4 separate regions of the Homo sapiens genome follow, and all the other regions are linked to region 3. Evidence: promoter capture Hi-C in 16 types of primary human blood cells and fetal thymus (Javierre and others, 2016). All regions are on one chromosome and are shown on one strand. Each heading gives the region's core, a stretch centred on a gene start or on the middle of the fragment in contact. The rest is flanking DNA. Distances are from core to core; before and after follow the strand shown. Region 1 has its middle 17 kb from the start of COX7A2L. Region 2 has its middle 9.6 kb from the start of COX7A2L. Region 3 holds the start of PKDCC (protein kinase domain containing, cytoplasmic). Region 4 overlaps KCNG3 (potassium voltage-gated channel modifier subfamily G member 3).

Region 1 (2,941 bases), core at 255-2,754, 300 kb before region 3:
TTGTCACTTGATCATTAAAAATAATTTTGTTTTTGTTTTTGTTTTGAGACAGAGCTTTGCTTTTGTCACCCAGGCTGGAGTGCAATGGTACATTCTCGGCTCACTGCAACCTCCGCCTCCCGGGTTCAAGTGATTATCCTGCCTCAGCCTCCTGAGTAGCTGGGATTACAGGTGTGTGCCACCAGACCTGGCTAATTTTTGTATTTTTAGTAGAGACAGGGTTTCTCCATGTTGGTCAGGCTGGTCTCGAACTCCTGACCTCAGGTGATCTGCCCGCCTCAGCCTCCCAAAGTGCTGGGATTACAGGTGTGAGCCACCATACCTGGCCTAAAAATAATTTTGATAATAGATCACACATGACTTATAACTCAGGAGTTCAAAGAATTGTGATTTTGCTATCACGAAACTTCATTCCCTTCTGTTTATGAAAACAAGGTTTTTCAGTGCTTATATCTGTAAAAATAAAAATGGGAATGGAATTGATGCTGAAATTACCTTATTTTAACAGTAAGCAAGATTTATCCATGGAAACCGGAACCAGCTCCCTCCCTCTAATTGCGATGCCTTTTTTTTTTTTTGAGGCGGAGTCTTGCTTTGTCACCCAGGCTGGAGTACAGTGGCGCAATCTCAGCTCACTGCAAGCTCCGCCTCCTGGGTTCACGCCATTCTCCTGCCTCAGGCTCCTGAGTAGCTAGGACTACAGGCGCTTGCCACAACGTGGGCTAATTTTTCGTATTTTTAGTAGAGATGGGGTTTCATTGCCTTAGCCAGGATGGTCTCCATCTCCTGACCTCGGGATCTGCCCACCTCAGCCTCCCAAACTGCTGGGACTACAGGCGTGAGCCACCGCGCCGGGCCTGCGACGCATTCTAAGACAGATTTTCTCATACTTTGTTTTGGTCAAATATGTACTAATAGTAATTGTAATAATTCAATCTAGAACAAAAGTATTTCTAACACTTAGAGTTTATGGTCACAGGAAATTTAAACAAATTTCAATTTTAGAGTGTTACAGAGAATTATGTATGAGCAAAAGGAGACTTTCATTCCTAAAGTTGTAGTAGGGTAAATGTTTTGGGACAGAGTTGTAGGTATGGGAGTGGAATGGAAAAACACGTGTAAGCAGAGGTTTCTGACTGTTGTATAGATGTGTATTTTTAACCAGATGAAGGTGGGTGTCCAACTGCAGTGGAGGTTACATTCCGTTGGATACATTTAGAACTGATTTAATAATTTAGCTAATATTTATAACAATAGAAACTATACTTTTTGCAACTATTTAAATTTAAAATGAAGAATTTTACGTATTAAGCTTAGATATGCATAGATGTAAATTTTTTTTTAGGGTACACAAGGGTAAGAAAGGTTGAAAATGGCTACTTTACACTTGTCCTTGTAAAGCAGTGCCCACTTATCCCTGGCTTTGCTCTTTCTGTCAGCCAGATTCCCTTTCAGGGTCTGACTAGCTTTCGCTCTCCTTCTCGGCCCCTTCATCCAGTGTGACTTTGCTGTGAAGCTGTTGGGTAAGGTGAAGGTTGGTGTGGCTTTGATAACACTGGCCAGCTTTCGTTTATTTATCTGCTTTTTTCTTCTCTTCATGTGTGTGGCTTTGGGCAGGCTCCCCTGGCTTGTCTGACATTGAGGTCTGTTCATCCCCACGTCTTCCTTCTGATTTTCCTCATGGTCAAAAGCTTGGTAAACCTCTCACTTTCTGTCCCATTCATCTTCAATAGCTAGAGGTTATACCTGGGGCTATAAAAATTGGTTGCTGAGAAATTCTGATACTGCCTGGTCCCAGTGATTTAATACATATATTTGACGTTTTGCCTCCACACCTCCTAGGCTGGGTCACTATTTAGTACCACAGACTGCCCATGTCGGGTTGGCTGAGAAATGGGGCCCTGTCCCTAGAGCTCCTCTTGTCGGGATCATTGGCCGGTATCTTTGGCTCCTCAGGGACTCCCTAACCCACAGTCTTCAAGGAGTTGCATTAATTCTCTGTTATTCTAGACATTTAATTAGTGCGCAGAAGCACACACTATTAGGTGCTGGAGCCTCAGAGATGAACCATGCTTAGGGTCATTTTCAGGGTGTCTCTCCACCTCTTAGGGTTGATAGACCACATGGCTAGCAAACGGCCTTGTTATTGAGGAATTCTGCAGTTATCCTTCACCTGTTCTGATCTGGGAGCTCTCTGTGACTGGCGGGGTTTGGTGACTTTAGAGGAGGCTGCCCGGGTGGGTGTGGTGGAGGGAAATCTGGCTGTGGCTGCTGTTCTGGGAACCCATGTCATGCCTTGGTGGTAGCAGGTCAGGCCTGGTAGCCTGGAGGGCGGCAGCAGCTGACTCTTGCTCTCATGACGTGAACGAGAGCAGTGAGGGTGGCTCAGCACCTCCTGAGGTAGGAGGGGAGTGGGACGATCACTTGCAGTCTCCTCTGCCATCAGCCACTGTCACTTGCATAAGCTGGAATCAGGCCTCCTGACCTCTGTGGCTCCACGGTGCCCGGGTGCGGCACTGCTGCAGGATGTGTTGGGATGGGCAGGTGGGGGGCCCAGATGCTGCTTGCCCAGGGTCCCAAGACTGCTGGAGCTGACTTCCCAGGGGAAGTCTGCTGCAAAACCCGAAACGGGGGGCGCTGAATGGCCAGGAAGAGCATTCTTTAGGTCATATTTTTTTCCTTGAGTTCTGACACAGCCCTCCTGGGACATCCTGCCTTCTCTTGTTCTGACCTCGTCTATGACATAGATTAGTCATGGTCACATGGCTGTGCCTCAGGGCCAAAGCACAGGTCTCTACACTGCCTAATGTGTATTAGCCAGATTGGAATCTTTGCTGACTCCAAATATCACATTCCAAGCTGCCCCAGGCTGTGAGAAATGGTGGCGTTGCCTCCCCTTTGGCAGAGAAGGTTTTAGGAAGAAGCCTTGGAAGGGCTGTAA
Region 2 (3,063 bases), core at 124-2,623, 320 kb before region 3:
GCACCCTCCAGCTGCCTGGGATATACCAGCCCCCACCCCACTATTTAGGGACTGGCTGCTGCAGGGTGAGTCCTTGGTGCTTTTCACAAGGCCAGGGCAGAACTCTGACATCAGAGAGCGCTGTTATGCAGTGCTTGCCCTTTATGGATTTTTAAAAGCTTGTTGTTTGGCCCAGACATGTGGCTCCCAGCTGCCTGCTTACTGAATCTTTCCCTTGTTTGTTCTTAACCTGAAAAGTCTCATCTCCCTCTTCCTCCCCTTCTTCCCAGAGCTTGGTCTGCTGCTGCCCACCTGTGCCCTGCTTAAAAACACTTTGCTTCCCCTTACCTGTGACCCCTTGGCTTGACCTTTGCCCCTTGCAAGGGGTGAGACCAGGGCTTCAGGGCCTGCTCCGCGGGGCTTGCTGGGAGATTGGGCTGTGAGTGGGCAGCCAGAAAGACTTGTGTACTGCTCCTTCCCTGGTGCCCACCGTCTCAGGACAGAGGCCACTTTATCTTCAGGGGATTCACCCAGGCCCAGGGATGGCGCTCAGATCTGCGAATATGAACTGGTTGCTGAACAAGCAGCAGCATGCGAAACATTTCTCAGAGGAATAAGTCGCCACGTCACAAATCAGAAATGTTGAAATGCAGTGAACTGTTGGATAGAGTGGTTGCCTAAATTAGGGTGAGAAACGGACCTGTCATTAGCAATAGAAGAACTTGCCTATGCCTCTGGCTATAAAAACCGTAATATGTTAGAAGCCTACAGAGGCAAAAACCCTATGTGGCTAAAAGATGAAGCTATTAATGGTGGGCACATGCTGAGGATGGTACTTCTAATCTCCAGAAGCATATAATGGTATTTTCCCCACTGAAATTATAAAAAAGAGAAGCTATTATGGTTCAACATTTAGACAGGAAATAAAGCACTTTTCAAAACAAATTGAAATTATTTTACTCCTGTAGTCTGAACTCATTAGCAAATAAGGTGGAGTTCCTTCTTCTTCTTTTTTTTTGTTTTTGGCCTTATTTTATTTTTTTTTTTTTTTGAGACAGGGTCTTGTGTTCCCCAGGCTGGAGTGCAGTGGTGTAATCTTGGCTCACTGCAACTTCTGCCTCCCAGGCTCAAGTAATCCTCTCACTTCAGCCTCCCAAGTAGCTGAGACTACAGGTACGTGCCACCACACTTGACTAATTTTTTAAGGTTTTTGCAGAGACGCGGTCTCGCTATGTTGCCCAGGCTGGTCTTAAACTCCTGGGCTCAAGAAATCCTCCTGCCTCAGCCTCCCAAAGTGCTGGGATTACAGGCGTGAGTCACTGCACCCAGCCTGGATCTCCTTCTTTCGGGACTTGGACAAATAGGAAGGCTGCTCTTACACTGGCTTTCTCCTTCACACCTTAATCTCCTTACACCTGTGTTATCCAATATAGCCACTAGCTGTATGTGGCTATGTTAAAATTAAATTAAAAATTCAGTTCTTCAGTTGCACTAGACACATTCCAAAGGCTCAGTAGCCACATGTGGATGGTGGCCACCATACCGGCCAGCACAGGCACAGAACATGACCATCATCAGAGAACATTCTATTGGACAGCACTGCTCATCTACTTTTATTGTTGAATTTAACTGTGCATTTTTGGTAAAACTTATTGAACAGCATTTTTGCATCCTGTAAGGAATTTAACACCAATGCTCCTTCTACAGGGTTACATGATGTTGTTTCTTTATTTCATGGCCTTTCTTAGAAATGAAAAGTTCCCCATGATTTTCTTTTTTTTCTTTTTCTTTTTTTTTGAGATGGCGTCTCGCTCTGTTGCCCAGACTGGAGCGCAGTGGCGCGATCTCGGCTCACTTCAACCTCTGCCTCCTGGGTTCAAATGATTCTCCTGCCTCAGCCTGCTGAGTAGCTGGGACTACAGGTGCCCGCCACCACACCCAGCTAATTTTTTGTACTTTTAGTAGAGACGGGGTTTCACCGTGTTAGCCAGGATGGTTTCTATCTCCTGACCTCATGATCCACCCGCCTCAGCCTCCCAAAGTGCTGGGATTACAGGCGTGAGCCACCGTACCCGGCCACCCCATGATTTTCTGAATCAGAGTTCTGCAAGGCCAGGAGATGGTATAAATGTCTGATGGCAGCAGACCAGCCTCCGGCCTCCTTCCACCAACTGCCTCACTGTTCCAGGGCCACTGCTGCTGTCCCCTCCTAACTGCCCCAGTTCCATCCACCCCATTACCTTTTCAGCTGACTCTATCCATTTTCCCTGGGGACCATCCCCTTACGGGCACGACAGTGTCAAAACTGAGCAGCCTGCAGAGGCCCAGCCCCATAAGGGCATGGTAGCAAAGTTCCATTTGTGCCCATGATGGGTGCTGAACAGTTGCAGGCCTCCAGTGGCTGTCAACTCAGGTGACATGTGATGTCATCAAGGGAATTTAATGGAAATAGATTGGAAAGAAATTCCTTCCCACAATATTTGCAATCAATATAGGTTTGGTCTTTTTTGCTTTGTTTTTAATTCTGAGGTGCAAAATCCTCACCAAGAGTTATTCTTCTCGCATCATTTAACTTAGAATCCTACCGGGCTACTCACCCTGAAGCTTGCAGGATACATGGCACTTTTACAACCCACCGGAAATTAAGTGCTAGTTGATTGACAGCATTACAGCTCTCTTAGAAGAGTCTATACCACCCCTCCCCCAGCTCTCTAATTTGATCAGCTCCTAGAGTGTGCTTAGCTGGAGATGGACAGCCCCTGGCAGTCCCAGAGCCTGAAGAAAGTAGGCCTGGTAACCTGGTTTGGATTGCTGTGGTTAAGACCTTGTCCTGGACACTAAGTGCTGGCTGGGCAGGCTTTCAGAACAAAAGGCAAAGTGCCTCTTGTGGAGACTTGTAAGACCCTCCTGGGGAAAGCATGATTTGAAGGCCCATGGCACCCACTGAGTCTCCTAGGTCTTCTCTAGGACCAGCCCTGTCCTTGCTGGGGAAGTTTCCTTGGTGCCTTTTCGTGTTGGGGGTAAAGCCTGAAAAACACTGTGTACAGGCAGTCTCATTAGCCTACTGAAAAGCAATAATACTCC
Region 3 (3,075 bases), core at 304-2,803:
AGACAGTGTGACATTTAGATCCTCAGGCCGCCAGTCTGTCCACTGAGCTGAGACCTTCAGGCTTCTCCAGGGGCTCAAGGACCCACTTTAAGGCCTGGGGAACCCTTAGTTCACTTCTGGGAAGGACTGTGTTCCCTTTTTCTAGCCTGCTCCCCAGCCCCCTTCCAGTGTCTTCTGGGTGGCGCTGGAGGTGGGTGGGTGGGGAGACTCTATAGGAATCAAGCCTGACACATGGTCTCTTTCCAGCTCTTCCCAGCCCCACTGCTGTCCCGTCTCATTTTCAAAACCAGACAAATCACTGGAAGTTGGGAGAAGTTCCATCAAGAAGGGGGACTTTATCACACAGTTGGAATTCTGACTCAAGTGTCTTGGCTTAGGGTCATTTTGGCTTGGGGTAATATCCCTGGTGTTCAACCTCCTAACTCCAGCCCGGAGTAGAGTCCTAAATCCTAATGGACTGCCCCACCCCCTGAGTTTTGGGAGCCTCTGTCCTGGCCTGTCTTTAAGAGATGTGTGGAAGCCGAGAAACCCAGGAGTTCTCCGGTAAAGGGACGCCCACCCAGGAGTGAGAAGCAGGGTGGTGCAGTGGGAAGGGCCATGGTCCGGTTTCTGCGTCTAGCTTAGCCTGGGTGCAGTCACTGGCACTCCAGATCAAGGGGTTCTCTTCCAGCCAGGTTGACAAGGTCTTGGGCACTCCCAGCCAACACCGTTACCCCCGCGTCCCCACCCTCGTACCTGCAGCACGTTGGGGTGCCGCAGCCGCTCCAGCAGCACCATCTCCTTAAGCAGCTTGTGGGCCGCCAGCCGATAGCAGCCCCTCCGTACCCCGAACTCGCGCACGCAGCTGCCCAGATCGTGGCCGCTAAAGTCCACCGCCTTGAGCGCCACCGCGGCACCGCCGGGCAGGCGGACCCGGTACACGGCCTTGGTGTAGCCTGAGCCCATGTACTGCGCGCCGGACACGTTGCGAAGCGCGGCGCAGCCCAGGCGCGGGCCCGGGCCGGGGGAGCCTGGGCCGGGAGCCGGGGGCCAGCCTGGGGCGCCGTCGGACAGGGGCCGGGCCCAAGGGGGCCGGGGGCGCGGCAGGCCGGGCCCGCCCGGAGCCAGGTCCATCAGGCGCCGCCGCTCCGGCCGGCCCGCCCCGGGCCCGGGGCCCCCGCGGGAATAGCGCTGCACCTCCTCGTAGCGCGCCCGGATCTGCCGGGCCAGCTCCCCGCGGCCCCCGCGACGGCCCGGACCCGGGGCCGGCGAAGGCTCAGGGGACTGGCCTGGCCTCGGAGGCTCCGAGCCCGGAGCGAAGAGCACGTTGAGGACGGAGCCCAGCAGGAAGGAGGCGCAGAAACCCGCGGCCACTGCCGCCCGCCGGCGCCGCATCGCTCCCCTCCCCCCGGCCGGCCGGCCCCGCGCGGCTCCCCGGCCCCGGCCCCGGGCGGCTCAGGCTCCGAGGCGGCTCCGCTCTGCGCCCCGCCGGCCCCCTGCCCAGCCCGCGCGCATGGCCCCGGCGGCCCCGACCCCGGCCCCTCGCGGGCGACACATCGGCCTGACACTTGCCTCCCTGCCGCCCTGCCCCCGCCGCTTATAAGGCCCAGAGCCGCCCCCCGCCCCCGCCCCCGCCCCCTCCCCCGCCCCCTCCCCCGCCCCTCCGCCTCCACCTCCCAGCTCCCGGCCCGAGCCCGTCCTCGGCGCCGCCCCCTCCGGCCGCCCGGCCCGGCCTTCCCCGCTGACTGACAGCGGGACCTCCTCCCGCGGCCGTCCGGGCCTGGGAAGCGGCGCGGAGGCGGCTCCGGTCCTGCCCAGCCCGCGGTCCCGCCCAGCCCGCGGTCCCCCGAGCTCCGTCTGGGAGCGGGGGAGGGGGCGGCGGCGGCCAGGAGGCGCGCGGGGGCTCCGCGCCCAACGCGAGGGCGGATAACGGGGCCGGGGCGGCCGGATAACGGGATTGGGAGGTGGATAACGGAGCCGGCCGGGCGGAGTGGGGGAAAGATAAAGGGGCGAGGCCGGCGGGTAGCGGGCTCCGGAGGGGACGAGCAGCTAAGTCCGGGGTGCGGAGATCCGAGTGATCTCAGCGCTCCCTCCTGGGACTGGGGGCCTCGGGGCGGTTTGGGCGCAGGGAAGGCGCGTGGACCCCGTCTCTCGCGGGTGGGGCCGGGGGTGGCGGCTCCTCGCTCAGCCCCGGATTCCGGATTGGGGCGATGGTGAGGGGGAAGCGGGCACAGCCGGGCCAGCACCTGCGAGCGCGCGTGGGACAGGAGCTCTAGGCATAGAGGAATGCTCGTGAGCTCGCCGAGGATGCCCTGTTCAACTCCTTTTACCAAAGTGTTTCTGATTTTCCTTGCCTCTAAAGCCCCAAATGCAGCTGGGGGTCGCTCCCTACCCCTCAAGATGCCTGGGGTCTGACGGGGTCAGCCGCGTATAAGAAACCATGTGCATGCTAGTAGCTTGGGCAAAGAGTGCGTTTGTGCCCACGGACGGCTGTCTGTGGAGTGTGTGCCTCGGCGTGTCTGAAGGGGCCATTGTGTCCGATGAAGGGAATGTGTACCTTGTGTGTAAGTTGGTGCTGACGCCACCAGAACTTCGGTCCCTCCTCCTCCCTCCCTGATTGCATCATTAGTGCTAATTGAGGGGCTTTCACACGCCAGTGCACTAGCTGTTTGGAGTGAGCTCCCCCCTCCTGGGAGAGATAAGCCGCTGCCCCTCCCCCTCGCAGCTCTCCTCTTCCCCGCCACTCTGAAACTGCCCACCTAGATCCTCTCACCTTCCTGGGCAGCTTCCTGCCTCCCTCTGGGCCAGGTTAATCTCTGTCCTCCTCACAGTGTCAGGGATTGGCTGGGGAGGGGTCAGGGAGGAGAAGGGTCCACAGCCTTTTTTCTGGGGGTGGGGGTGGGTGGGGGGGTATCCAGGGAGGGGAGATTTTCCCTGAAGAGGTCTGGCGTTCCTACAGAATGCAGTGTCTGTGATGAGAAAGGGACAGGAATTTCTGCCCTGTTCCTTTGGACATGGAAGGACCGAGGAGAGAGCTGAGTCCCTGATCTCCAGCCTATGATCCCACTGAGGTGGGCCTTCCAGCCCGGACTCCTT
Region 4 (2,918 bases), core at 16-2,515, 390 kb before region 3:
GGCCAAAATTTAAACTGTATAATGGAGCTAGATACAAGCAAGAATAGTATTTGAAAGACTTTTCCAGCATACTTCTCAATTCTTTGCTTTATTTTTGTGCCAATTATTCACCTTATCGTGCCGCTTCATGGAAGCTTGAGTATGTTCTCCCTTTTCCATTTTGGATTTATCTCTTTACTGTAATGACTCAAAAGGTATTTAAGAATTGACGAGAGCTTGTGTTGTTTAGCATCTTACTGGATAATATTTGAATTCATTGCTGTTCCTAGGTGATAACTGTCCTAATATTTAGATGTCCAAACAAGAATACTTCCAACATAAAAATTATAATAGGAATAATTTGAGATGACTCAATATTACAACCTCTTCTTCTCTTAACCTCCTCCCCCAAACACTAGAGGTTTAATAAGACTTATCAGATGAAAGGATATTTATATAGCCTTTTAGTAGCAAAGTCATACTTACGTGTTGTCACTGGATTATCATAAAAGGGAGAAATTAAATATTACTGTACTCTTAGTTGCTGTGTAGCTAAGTCAATTTTAAGCCAGTAAAAGCGATGGATACATAATGATTTGATCTGATCTTTAACTATTGTGAATCACAGCTACACCAAAACTCTTCTTGTAAGAATACTGACTAATATGCCATGTTAATCTGGCTAGATTATTAGGACTAGATAATGTAAAAGTGATGATTGTTTAGTAACTAAATTTTAGCAACAGAAATTAGAATTTTGCTTTTTCAACCAGTTACCATAAAGAAGTTAGTGTATATATAAACACAAATAATTAGTGACAGATTCATAAAAAATTGAATGTTGTACACAGTAATTTTGTCAGAGGTAGAGAAGACAGGGATTGGGAAGTGGTGGGTGATGGAGGACCTGGATATATTTATCAAATAAAGGGTTACCAGAAGTGTTCATTAAAGGAATTTTAGCCATCATCTAGTTCAAACCTCAACTATTACAGGTAGAAAATCAGGGCAGGAGAGAATATAATTGTGAAGGAGTCAGGGCTAACACCTGGATCTCCAGAAACCTAGCCCAGCAGGTTAATCTTCACACATCTCTGGGTTCTGAGAAAAGCCTGGAAAAATCACACTTCTTTGTCATTGTCATGCTGAGGTAATAATAGCAAAACTGTTTTCTTTCCCTTAATTTCCTTTCCTAAGCTTATGTAATAGTTTGGCCATTAAATATCTTGCCCTATTTTCCCTATTACTGCTAGTATGCTACTTCTTACATACCCAAAAGAAATTCAGTTATTTATTGTATATTTATTGTATTCTAATATAATTGAAATAAATGGCATGGATTTATTTTTTCTTAACTATTTGGATTAAAGCTTTGTGGTTCATGCAAACAATGTGCAGATGATAGCACCTCCATATTACTAATAAAAATATGATAACCATCAATTTTACTGGTACTGGGACCGCTTTATGTGAATATGTCCTATCTTCCCAAGTAAATTATAACTGTCTTGAGAGCTGGGATCCTCTCTCATGCATACACCTTTGTATCCCCGACAGTGTCTGTTACAGACTTGGGCACAAACAGTTGACTGATTTGAGGGGAGAAACTTCTGTGTGAAGAGACGAGGAGAAGCATATACCTATAGGTATATATATACACACACACCTATATATATATATTTTATACATACATATAGGTATATATATGTGTATATATTTTATATATAGGGATATGTGTGTGTGTATATATATATATAATGTACATGTGCAAATATACACACAGACTTCATGCTACCCTTAGGTAACAAGTGTGAAATCTCTTGTTGGTGATTCCAGACTTTCCATAGGACCGATTTTCATAAAGAAGCATGTTGGGTAAATACTAGTGGCAGTTAAGCTACCCATTTATAAGGAGACGATGAGACGTGATAGAGTAGTTCATTCATAAATGAAAAAATATGTATTAGGGTTTTGTCTTCATGGATGTTGTGTTTTTTTAGGAACAGCATTTTATTGTAACGTTCCCTGAGCGTTGCTACTTTTATCATTATTTATCTATTTATTTTTTTCTAGAGATAGAGTTTTGCTTGGTTGCCTAGGCTGGAGTGCAGTGGTGTGATCATAGCTCACTGCAGTTTTGAACTCCTGGGCTCAAGCAGTCCTCCCACCCCAGCCTCCCAAGTTGCTAGGACTATAGGTGTGCATCACCATGCTGGTTAATTTTTTAATTTTTATTTTTTTGTAGAGATAGGGGTCTCACTGTGTTGCCCAGGCTTGCCTCAAACTCCTGGCCTCAAGCAGTCCTCCCACCTCAGCCTCTCAAAGCTCTGGGATTATGGGCATGAGACACTGTGCCTGGCCTGTTGCTGCTTTTTTAAAAAACCATTAAGTATCACTTCTTTCTTAGCTATACTTACAGACATCTCTTATAACTCAGTCTTTTCATGGCAGAAATGTTTTCATTAATATCTGTATTGGTACCAGTAAGTCAGACATTATCCTAAATTAAAATACCCAAAGAGGAAAAAAGCCCTAATCTCCTAATCTTTAATCTGATTTTACCACACCTGAATTTACATGACTTGATCTAATATGTAACTTGTTTTGTATTCTCTAAAATGGGAGTTTTAGGATTACAAACACAAAATTAGGGAATATATTTGAAAGTGAACAAACTAACAATTCAAGGCTTTCATTACTGTATTGTCCTTGTTGCTAATTGAAACAGTTGCATTTGTTCTTGGGTTTGGTCATTACCTATAAGTACCCATTTGTAAGTTCATACTTTCTGAAAAGTTATTTCCACAATGGCTGTCAATAAGTCAAAATTATTTGTCTTTTTAAACCTTTGTCCAGATGTCCTGTGATCTGGAAGAGGTGGAGATGGGGTTAATTTGGATGTTGGTGTTGGGAGAATTTTCCCTGTTGGCTTGGTATTT

The links. The method cuts DNA at HindIII sites, captures the fragments that hold promoters and counts their contacts. A CHiCAGO score of 5 or more calls a contact.
Region 1: a contact is called between a fragment that was not itself captured here and the fragment with the promoter of PKDCC in region 3, in 1 of 17 cell types (total CD8 T cells). The highest score is 6.3, in total CD8 T cells.
Region 2: a contact is called between a fragment that was not itself captured here and the fragment with the promoter of PKDCC in region 3, in 1 of 17 cell types (naive CD8 T cells). The highest score is 5.4, in naive CD8 T cells.
Region 4: a fragment that was not itself captured here is called in contact with the fragment with the promoter of PKDCC in region 3 in 1 of 17 cell types (non-activated CD4 T cells); the score reaches 5.9 in non-activated CD4 T cells.

What each region holds. Positions count from the first base shown.
Region 1 is chr2:42,342,488-42,345,428 of GRCh38, reverse strand. It overlaps a transcript of COX7A2L not described here. Among named protein-coding and RNA genes, the nearest start is that of COX7A2L, 17 kb to the left of the region's middle. The HindIII fragment of the contact is 379 bases long and covers 1,315-1,693 here.
Region 2 is chr2:42,369,336-42,372,398 of GRCh38, reverse strand. No RefSeq gene overlaps it. Among named protein-coding and RNA genes, the nearest start is that of COX7A2L, 9.6 kb to the right of the region's middle. RefSeq lists an enhancer at 1,967-2,468. The HindIII fragment of the contact is 2,425 bases long and covers 161-2,585 here.
Region 3 is chr2:42,046,499-42,049,573 of GRCh38, reverse strand. It overlaps PKDCC (protein kinase domain containing, cytoplasmic), which reads right to left and starts at 1,553. Exons shown (of 7, transcript NM_138370.3): 1 at 736-1,553. The coding sequence starts at 1,374. RefSeq lists enhancers at 665-924, 2,425-2,544, 2,168-2,672, 2,673-3,075 and silencers at 965-1,034, 1,165-1,264, 1,275-1,454, 1,605-1,854, 1,965-2,254. The HindIII fragment of the contact is 13,255 bases long and covers 1-3,075 here.
Region 4 is chr2:42,440,521-42,443,438 of GRCh38, reverse strand. KCNG3 (potassium voltage-gated channel modifier subfamily G member 3) reads left to right here. Exons shown (of 2, transcript NM_133329.6): 2 at 1-1,422. Among named protein-coding and RNA genes, the nearest start is that of KCNG3, 52 kb to the left of the region's middle. The HindIII fragment of the contact is 173 bases long and covers 1,179-1,351 here.